Regions from separate parts of the Homo sapiens genome. Here region 2 is linked to region 1. Evidence: promoter capture Hi-C in 16 types of primary human blood cells and fetal thymus (Javierre and others, 2016). All regions are on one chromosome and are shown on one strand. The core of a region is centred on a gene start or on the middle of the fragment in contact, and the rest is flanking DNA. Distances in the headings are between cores, read along the strand shown. Region 1 overlaps KCTD16 (potassium channel tetramerization domain containing 16). Region 2 holds the start of GNPDA1 (glucosamine-6-phosphate deaminase 1).

What was found. The method cuts DNA at HindIII sites, captures the fragments that hold promoters and counts their contacts. A CHiCAGO score of 5 or more calls a contact.
Region 2: the fragment with the promoter of GNPDA1 here is called in contact with a fragment that was not itself captured in region 1 in 1 of 17 cell types (activated CD4 T cells); the score reaches 5.0 in activated CD4 T cells.

The regions. Positions count from the first base shown.
Region 1 is chr5:144,186,914-144,192,134 of GRCh38, forward strand. All of the region lies in intron 2 of KCTD16 (potassium channel tetramerization domain containing 16), which reads left to right. Among named protein-coding and RNA genes, the nearest start is that of KCTD16, 19 kb to the left of the region's middle. The HindIII fragment of the contact is 2,014 bases long and covers 1,527-3,540 here.
Region 2 is chr5:142,009,938-142,015,158 of GRCh38, forward strand. It overlaps GNPDA1 (glucosamine-6-phosphate deaminase 1), which reads right to left and starts at 3,090. Exons shown (of 7, transcript NM_005471.5): 1 at 3,058-3,090; 2 at 1,975-2,104. The coding sequence starts at 2,098. RefSeq lists silencers at 2,215-2,274, 2,946-3,215 and a cis regulatory region at 4,357-4,629. The HindIII fragment of the contact is 4,254 bases long and covers 2,180-5,221 here.

The DNA.
Region 1 (5,221 bases), core at 1,284-3,783:
CTGTGCCAGGTGCTGGGGATGGGATATAATAATGAACAAAAATAATAATGATCCCTTCCCTCTCAGCGCTTACAGTGTCACTGGGGGAGAGAAACATGATTCAAATAATCACTCCTCAAATAGTCAAAGAACTCCTTAGGGCTTTTCAGTTCCTAAATTCCATATATACATAAACATAAAAAATAGTTCATAGAACACAAATCTTCTTACATGTTTATTTGAAAGATCTGACAAATCTCATTTATTTCTTAGACTCATTTTTTTTTCCAGATTATTAGCTACAGATATTGCAAACCACTTATAACAATTTTCTGCCTGCCAATGACATAATGCATTGTACTGGCTCATTATTGTAATAGTTGTTACTATGCATATTGAATGCAAATTTCAGGTAATATTTTAGTCTTCATTTTCTATTCATTCCTAGCACTGCCTTTCTATTTCTAACAGGGAGGGATTAAAAAATAACAGAGTCAATAAATTTTAGAGTTTCAAAGGTAAGAGCTGATTTCACACACACACACACACACACATATACACACACACATACACACAGGGGGCAAGAGAGAAAAAATGTTGTTTATTCTTCTAGCTATAACAAAATATCACTTGGGTTCCCCCTTTTCCTCAGATTTTAATTCTATTGATGAAGCATATACAGAGGAAAATATGAAAATGAGTTGTTTTCACTGAATCATTAATGACTTGAGGCTGGCAGTAGGTAGACTTCTTAATTGCTTAATTGTTTATTAAATTTATTCTTTAGCAGTTGATCTCTGGATTTCTTTGTGTACCCCAGAGTCTTGCTGTTAATCAAATATTCTGTAAAATTTTTGCTTTTGCCTGGAAAAATGATTCTACAAGTTCCAGATGTCTTAGGTTGTGTTAAATGTTTGAGGAAAGAAGGCTATTTATTGGAAACCAGCCAGGATCTTTGTTTAGATTATTTTTGCCAGCAGCTCTTCTACTTCAGGCTGTGATTTCATCAAAAAATATTTGCACAAGCCATTGCTTCAGTAACCACGTCTCCAGCCCCACCGGAAGTGGATGTGGTTAATCTAGTAGACAGCACTCTTCTGTCTGAGCCTAGCTTAGACATAGTAGACTGAAAAATTATGTATCTGGAGTTGTTTTTCACCAGGGTTGGCAAGAGGCTCTGATAATCTGCCATCATTATAGGTTTCTTGCTTCTTATCACAACAGCAAGGCTTCTTTGATGGGGTTGAGTCTAGGCAAATGTTTTGGTTGGTAATTAATTGTCCATATCTTACATTTCATCTGGATTTTTCTGTTAATGTGATCCTTCTATGTGTATTGTCCTTTGGTACTTACAAAAAGCTAATAGATATTAGCTTTGTACCTCTTCCAGATTTACTGTTATTTAGCAGTAGGGAATCATTAAGGCCGCATTCTCATCCTAGATCTGTTTTCTTATGTCTGTCAAGAGAAAGTACATGAGAAAATAGTCAAAGTTAGTTTTAAGAATGCATTTCCTGATGGAGTTTAGAATGATACATCTGGTGGTAAGCTTTCTCATCCTAACTCTTTTCTTTAACCCACAAAGGGTGCTTAACCAAAAGTGGCTAGGCTGATGGTTAGTAGGTAGGACATTTCAACCTCTGGCAAATTTGTCATTGAGCAGCATCAGTAAAAAGGTGGAAGATTCTCCACTATCCTCAAAACTTTTTCAATGACTATAAATCAAATGTAATAAAGAGGCATCTAACCAAAATAAAATTTAAGCTGTTGTGCCTAAGGTGATCCAAATATACATGAAGAGAAATGTATCAACAGATAAATAACTTGAGTTATGAAATAGGGGTTTGGAGTGGAAAAGAGTCAGGTGAGAGGTCAGCTTGAAAACACCAAATGGGGCATTGTAATATTCCTAATCAAATACTCACCTCCCCTCCCCTGCCACAAAAAGTTGAGAATCAATACTGAGTGAACAGCTTCTTTGAAAAGTGAATCTTTCTACAAAGAAGTTCCAAAAGAGAGATAAAAGATCAACTATACACAACATAATCAAAAGCAAGCCCTGTTGTCATGGTAAGGCCTTATATTCATGTGTAGGGTGTCTAAGTAGCACCAGTAATTTGCAAACACATTGATAAAGGCAATAAATAACAATGATATCAAAGGATGCACTTAGACATTTTGGACCCTCTAAGATATGCCAGGCTCTTTATACTTAAATCTACTGGAGTAGCAGTTCTGAAAGTATTTAACGCACAGCTCTTAACCTACTTGGAGAACATGTACTGTTTTGAAATTTGGATGAACTCTTGGGATCTCTAGAAAATGCAGAGCAGGTCACGCCTGTAATCCCAGGACTTTGGGAGGCCGAGGCGGGCGGATCACGAGGTCAGGAGATTGAGACCATCCTGGCTAACATGGTGAAACCCCGACTCTACTAAAAATACAGTAACAAAATTAGCCGGGTGTGGTGGCGGGCGCCTGTAGTCCCAGCTGCTCGGGAGGCTGAGGCAGGAGAATGGCGTGAACCTGGGAGGCGGAGCTTGCAGTGAGCCTAGATTGCGCCACTGCACTTCAGCCGGGGTGACAGAGTGAGACTCCATCTCAAAAAAAAAAAAAAAGAAAAAAGAAAAAGAAAATGTAGAGCAGGTACATAGAGTTTTGCATACAATTTCAGGGAATTCATGAATTTTGTGAATCCCGTTTGCAGACCTAGGTTAAGAATGGAGGCTTAAAGCAAATCGTGCTAGGTAATAAGGACCTTCACGGAATATAATTTTCCTTTCTGAGTAACTGTTGTCAGCCACCTTGTATCACAATACACATGCCCTTTAGTTTTTTCAGGTGGTTTGCCAGCATTTTTCCTCTTTTCCCTTATATTGGTCATCTCATTTTAATTCACATGGTTGCCATATTCCTTAGCCTTTTATGAAGGTAGTTAAGGTAGACTGCTATATTGTTATTTCCCTTCCTTCTCCACAGTGGCTTTAAAGAGTTTATGTGGCCTCTGTGTCAGAACTACTTATTGCATTCAGGATGAGGCTGACAACCCACAACCTGTGAAGACAGACTGGGGAAATCCACCGGAAAAGGTTTTGGAGGGAACTGCAGATTCGTTGTGAGTAACCAGACCCAGCGAGAGCAATGAATTACATAAGCACAAATGAATATGTCTGCATTTTGATAACCCTTCACCCCACCCGCAGCCAGGCACTTAGTCACTCTTTCCTCTGTGTCTCCTTAACGCTATTATACCTCTATTATAGCTCCTATCACTGCACTGGATTTATTTGTTTACGAGTCTGTCTCTCTTACTAGACTATGAGCAATTCCAAGGCAGAGTCCATGACTTATTTATCTCTGTACCTCAACCCAGTGTCTGGGTTAAGAGTGCAGGCTTTGGAGTCAGAGTGTCTGCACTCAAATCCACGTTCTGTACATTTGCGTAAGATCACTTGGGCTAGCTACTTGACTTATCTGAACCTTGGCTTCTCTCTCCTTCCGTTCTCTCTCTTTCTTACGATGCCTCACTTTCCTTTGTGCCTATAAGTGTCACACTAACAAAGCTTATTGTGAAGAATAAATGAAATAATGCTCAGCATAGTGACAGTCATGTAGTAGTGATTCAGTAATTGGTATCTATTATTATATCTATTAATATTACGATTGATTGTTGAATGAAAATTCCTTTCTTTACTATAGTTCACCTGACTGGAAAAAGCCTTTTTTAGCTTAAACTACTAAAGAACACACTTTTCCCCTACCTCTTTCCTTGTCCCCTCTGTCCCTTTGCTATTAATACCCCTCCCCAGTAACATAGTAATTAATATTCTATTTTATTTTTCTCCACTATATTTATTATCATCTGACATTCTATATGCTTATTCATTTATTGTCTAGAATGTGAGCTCTATGAAGGCAGGAGCTTCAGCTCTTTTGTGTTCATTGTGGAATCCCCATTGCCTATGGCAATGCCTAGCATGTGGAACATACTAAACAAACATTTACTGAATGAATGAGTGAATGGGCACTCACAGACACACACACACCACAACACACATAAAACATTCTCATTCTCTGCTGAAGGTGAGCCTCACTGATTGTCGTTAATGTGCGACATTCAATGTACACCATTCTTCACTTTGCCAAATGGGTAATAGAGCAGCTTTTATCTTTATTTCCCTTTCTTTCATGGCTGGGGGATAGAGGGAAAATATTTTTTAATACTGTTGTAAAAACGGAAATTCTTATTGCTTTAATGTCAAAGCCACACCTGTCAGTGGGGACATTGAATGGGAATCATTGGTGGAAGTCCTCCCTGATAAGTGAGCAAAGGGATGCTGGGGAGAGGGTAGATGAGTTCTGAGTTACTCTGTAGAAGTGGTGGTCGTTGAGAAACTTGTTTCTGTCATTTCTGCTCAAAAACTCACAATGACTACTTAGTGTTTACAGAATTAAGTTCAAACTCCTCCACTGTTCTTTCACTGGTGCCTTTTGCTCCAGCCAAACTGGATAATTGACTGTTCTTTTCCCAACTGCTGCTCCCCTCCATATACCCCCTGACACACTTACACACATATTTTTTCAACCACTTTTCCCTTCTACATAGAACCTTTAGCTTCTGTTTTCTAGGTTCCACCTGTCCTTCAAAGTGCAATAGCAACTCTGTCTAGTCATGATATTTCCTCTCATTCCTCTCATCCTCCCTCCCTAAGCCCTGAAGACAGCTGGCTGAGTTATCCTTCCTCAGATTTCTTTAAGAAATCTCACCTCCTCTTTGGGGGTGTTTACCAGCTTTTGCCTCCACTTATCTCTCTCTAGACTTGTCTGCTAAATTATCTCAACAGCCGAGACAGTTCCCTGTTTTTCTATGCATCTCAGGCTAACAGTGAGTGTTTGCGGCAGTGCTTCTGCATGGAGCTGCGTATTTCCATTTTTTTTTTTTTCAGCAGTACAAATAAACTTTAGGCCTTTTCTGATAACATGTTAAATATAAAGTATTTTTCTTATATGGTCAATACAAGTGAATTTCTTTCACCATTCATGCTGTAAAAGGCAGAATAATTAATAATGAAGGTAAATGTAGAGACAGGCTTGCATTTCTTGAGGCTACAGTGAGAAGGGATCAGTTTCTTATAGGGCTTGGCAGGGTATGTCAAGTTGGTGGACCAAAGGGGGCATCTCATTGCTGACTTTGGGAGCTTAAGACTTCACAAGTGGAAAGAAATTAGTAATTGAAATTGGG
Region 2 (5,221 bases), core at 1,840-4,339, 2.2 Mb before region 1:
GATCTGACTCTGCAATGATGGGAACGAGGGAATGGTTTCAGAAGGCCAGACTCTGACCCATACAGAGGTTGGGTCTCTCCACAGTTAGGAGACAGGATGTTAGCACAGCCTCCGAGGGCCTGAGACATTGGTAGTTTCACAGGCACAGGTGGATACTACTCCCACAAACCTCTAGTGCAGAACTCAGCAAACTTTGGTCCACAGGCCAAATTTGGCCTGCGGCCTTTATTTTTTATTTTTTTAGACAGAGTATCGCTGTCACCCAAGCTGGAGTGCAGTGGCACAATCTCAGCTCACTGTAACCTCTATCTGCTGGGTTCAATTGATTCTCCTGCCTCAGCCTCCTGAGTAGCTGGGATTATAGGTGCCCGCCACCATGCCCAGCTAATTTTTATATTTTTAGTAGAGGCAGGGTTTCACCATGTTGGCCAGGCTGGTCTCAAATTCCTGACTTCAAATGATCGACCCACCTCAGCCTCCCAAAGTGCTGGGATTACAGGCGTGAGCCACCACACCCGGCCCTGTGGCCTGTTTTTATACAGCTTATGAGTTAAGAATGGTTTTCTTTTCTTTCTTTTTTTTTTTTTTTTTGAGACAGAATCTTGCTCTGTCACCTAGGCTGGAGTGCAATTGCACAATCATGGTTCACTGCCTCGACCTCCTGGCCCAAGCAATACTCACACCTCACACCGTAGCCTCCTCAGTAGCTGGGACTACAGGCATGTGCCACCATGCCTAGCTAATTTTTCTATTTTTTGTAGAGATGGGGTTTTGCCATGTTGCCCAGGCTAATCTCAAACTCCTGGGCTCCAGCAATCTGCCTACCTCAGCCTCCCAAAGTGCTGAAATTACAGATATGAGCCACCATGCCTGGCCTGGTTTTTACATTTTTAAATAGTTTTTTTTTTAATTAAAGAAGAATAATATTTTGTGACATGTGAAAATTATATAAGTTCAAACTTCAGTGTCCATACAGTTTTATTGGCATACAACCATACTCATTCACTTATATATTGTCTTTTCTTTTTTTGAGACAGGGTCTCACTGTCACCCAGACTGGAGTACAGTGACACAATCATGGCTCACTGCAGCCTCAATCTACTGGCTCAAGCAATCCACCTACCTCAGCCTCCCAAGAAGCTGGGACTACAGGTGAGCGCCACCATGCCAGGCTAATTATAGCTGCTTTCAAACAACAGAAGGGTTAAGTTGTTGCAACAGAGACTATATGGCTAGTGAAGTCTAACATATTTACTACTGGCCATTTACAGAAAAAGTCTGGACTGCAAGGAAGACCAAAAAAAAAAAAAAAAAGGAAAAAGAACAAGTTTGAAGACCCCTCCAACACACACACACACACATAGACACGCTAATGGATGGGTCAGGTAGGGCCACTAGGGCAAACCCATCCATCTCTGAAAGAAATAATCAGGACATTTGTCTTGAGGAGCTGGGGTCAAAATATCTTTCTGAAAAAGCAACATTTTGATTTTTTCCAAAAGAAATTAGAACTGTTTTTTATTTAGGTCCTGTGTTTAATTAAGCCTTACAGAAAATTACCTAAGTGACTATCTTTTCAATTCTCCCAAGGATGGTACTTAGCTGGTACCCCTCTAGATGCAGAGAAGAGAAATTAATTCATTACATAAAATGAATGCCTTAGGGTATCAGGACTTAATTCTGTTAAGAAACCCTGGTGGACAGGGCTGACTTAGGATGTAGCCTAAAAATCAAATTCTTCCTGCCAACCAAGATCCCTTCTGCTCCAGGATTCTGCAGGGACAGGCAGCGACTAAACCAACCCATAAGGGAAGCTGGGTCCTTTGTATGTGGAAGGGGCAGGAAGGTGCTCTCTCAGCACCAGTACCCCAGAGCCCCCGTGAAGTCCCTTGGCTGAGTGAGCCGGTGTACCTGGCCCCTGTTGCCTACTCTCTCCACCCTTATCCACGGCACCCTCTCCATCCAAGAACGCACCAGTGGGGAGCCCCAGGGTGAAGTACTTCTCTGGCCCTGGGTTAAACTGGATGATGCGGTTCCTGATGTATTTAGCCGCCCACTCGCTCGCCTGAGAATAGTGCTCCAGGATGATGAGCTTCATCTTGTCCTGCAGTGGGGGAGAGGGGATGACAGAAAGGAATCAATGGTAAGGGGCAGAGAAAGAGATGGAGGTGGTGGGAGAAGCTTCTCTTACCCAGCAACAATCCCCTTCCCAAGCTGTCTGAGCCAGGAAAAAGGCCTTTCTATTCACAGAGGAGCTAAGAGGCTAGGCCAGTCGTCTCCACCACCCACAGACCACGAGGAGGCGCCACTGGGGGCAGATCTGGGTTCTAATCTCAGCTCCTTCACTTACCACCTGCAGGACCTCGGTCAAAGGACCTAAGTTCTCTCTGAGCCGTTTCCTCCTATGTAAAAATTGGGACAATAGTACCTACTTCACAGACTTCACGACGGGTAATATGAAATGAGAGAATGCATGTAAACAACTTAGTATTTTCTACGTTGGCTGTTACCATCCAGATAGATGCTCGGCTCAGCCCCGCCTCCCTCATCCCTGCCCCTACCGGAACGGGATACCCTACCCCCTCCCCGCCGTCTACCCCAAGACTCTTCCTCCAGAAGTAGAGAGGTCATGGGATCATGCTGGGCCACTAGAGCAGGTGGGGCAATGAGCTCTGCCTGGGGAGCTGTGTGCTCTCTCTGGACTAGCGGAGGGGTCTTCCTACTGGCCCACCTTGCTTTGCGAACCCCTCTGGGTCTTCAGTTTCCCCCAAAGCACAAAAGGGAAAAGGTAATCGCTCCAGAAGGAGGACATTTTGTTCCCCCAGCACTGCGGTTAGTGGGAGTGTGAAGGAAAGAGGCGAAGGTGGCCCGCGCGGTCGTCGGTGGGGTACAGCGTGTCCCCCACCCCCATTACCACCCCATCGCCCCTCCGATCCCTCCTGGAAAATGTGTGAGGGCGGCTCCCCGGGGTCCCGACCCCGAGTGCCGTAGGGCTGGGGCAGCGCTCCGCGCTCCGGCCCGCGAGGAAGGTCCCCGCCAGCCCTGCTACCCACTTACACGGACGCCTCCCGCGGCGGCTGCAGCGACTGCGCCGGCGGCCCGGCCCCGCGCGGGTCACGTGGCTGCGGGTCACGCGGCGCCGCGTGCGCCGCCCGCCGGGCTGACTCAGCTTGGCCGCAGCTACCCGGACCGACTCTCCCAGGTGGAGGAGTTCCGGCCACTCAGTCCCACCTCGGTCCCTGGCCCCGGCAGGCCCTGGAACAGACCTTAAAAAACACTTTCCCTTGGGAGGCGGGGATTCGAGTCTGGTTTGTGTGTGTGTGTGTGCAAGAGGAGGGAGACTTGAGGGGCGCCGGGTCGCCCCCAGGAATACAACCCCCTGGACCTTGGGGCTGGGGCCGGGGGGTTTTAGTGCAGGGGTTGAGCTGGGGGCAGGCAAAGCAGAATCGCTTCCTCAGTCTCCTAGGGTTGGGCCTGGCTCTGCCTTCAGTTTCTTTCTTTGTTTAGATGCCATTTATTTACCCAAGTATTAAAACTTGTGTTGTTTAAAGTACAATTGGGCTTTTTAATGTCCTTTTTTAAAGATCAAACTTTGCAGCATTATATAATAGAGAAAAAGGCAGGCCCCTGGTTTCCCCAACTCCCCACACCAAGATAACCATTGCTTAGTTTAAGAGTACATTCTGAATTGCTTTCTTTGAATATGCTTACACTGTTATTTTACATAAATGGGAACACATACACATGAGGCTTATATATATCAAGGCTCGGATATTTGACCTGCATTATTTCACTTAATCCTTATTAAGCTCCAGTGAGGTAGGTTTGCCGTTACTTTTTAACAGGTGGAGAAACTGACGCTTGGAGAGAAAAATTAACTTGGCCAGAGGCACAAGTGGTTTCCCTTGTGCCTTCAATTCAGGGGGATCTGTCCAAATCCAAAATCCATGCTTTTTACCGCTAGCGGGCACTGCCTCCCAGCTGGTATGACTGGATTTGGGACGCTTCCATATCAGAAAAAGAGATCCATCTTATTCTTTCCAGTCAACATTAGAGTGTTCCAGACTTCTAGGGACACTTGGGAACTTTCCATGCGGAGGCTGGAGGAAGGACTTGAGTGCTGGTCATCAGTAACATCTTCCATTACATAGGGTTTTGCCAGAGCTTTGTGCGCATTATTTCATAGAATCCCGCCCAATCGTCAGATATGATTACCGCCATTTTATTGATGTGGAAACTGGGGATCAAAGGCGTACAGAGACTTGTGATATATGACCTCATAGTCTGACATCCCGGACTTTAGTCAGTGCTAGGGAGCAGTGGTGAGACCTTCTGAATCAGCCTAGTTTTCCTCCAGCAGCAAAAGGCCAAAGGAATCCTGGCTTTATGCCCACGGGACAGGGCCTTCCTCAGTCAGCCGGGTGGCCACGTTCTGCAATTCTGCTGAATCTGCTCACTGTGGACAGCCCCAGGCGCTCACCCAGCCCTTGGGCCCAACTGCAGCTCCAGACCAGCTTGCTAGGGGTAGGCTTCATCTGGTGAGGCCCTGATGAGACCAGATGGTGGAGCTGATACCTTTACAGTGTGGGGGACTTGCTCTTTGCCTCAGTGTTATTTTGTTTTGTTTTGTTTTGTTTTCCAAATCCTGAGAGGCTGTGAATGGCTCGGTGTTGGTGTAGTTTTTGTTTATTTTTAAATTCAGTCAGAAATCTTTTTTTTTTTTTTTTTGAGATGGAGTCTCGCTCTGTTGCCCAGGCTGGAGTACAGTGGTGTGATCTCTGCTCACTGCAACCTCCGCCTCCCGGGTTCAAGCAGTTCTCCTGCCTCAGCCTCCCGGGTAGCTGGGATTACAGATGCCCACCACCATGCCCAGCTAATTTTTGTACTTTTAATAGAGATGGGGTTTCACCATGCTGGCCAGGCTAGTCGTGAACTCCTGACCTCAGGTGATCTGCCCGCCTTGGCCTCCTAAAGTGCTGGGATTACAGGCATGAGCCACCGCCCCCAGCCAGAAATGTTGTCTCAGCTTGAGGACTGCAGATGTTTCACAATGAAGCTCCAACTCCAATCTCCGATCACGTCTGATAACATGGGCCAGGTCTGCAGCATCTGCATCCAGACCTTTCCAGGAGGAGAGTGACTGACTTCTGGTGACTAAGCCCATTTCCCCTGAGTTACCCCTTCTGCAGGGAACCAGTGCAGGGTCTCTGCGAAGCCTGGA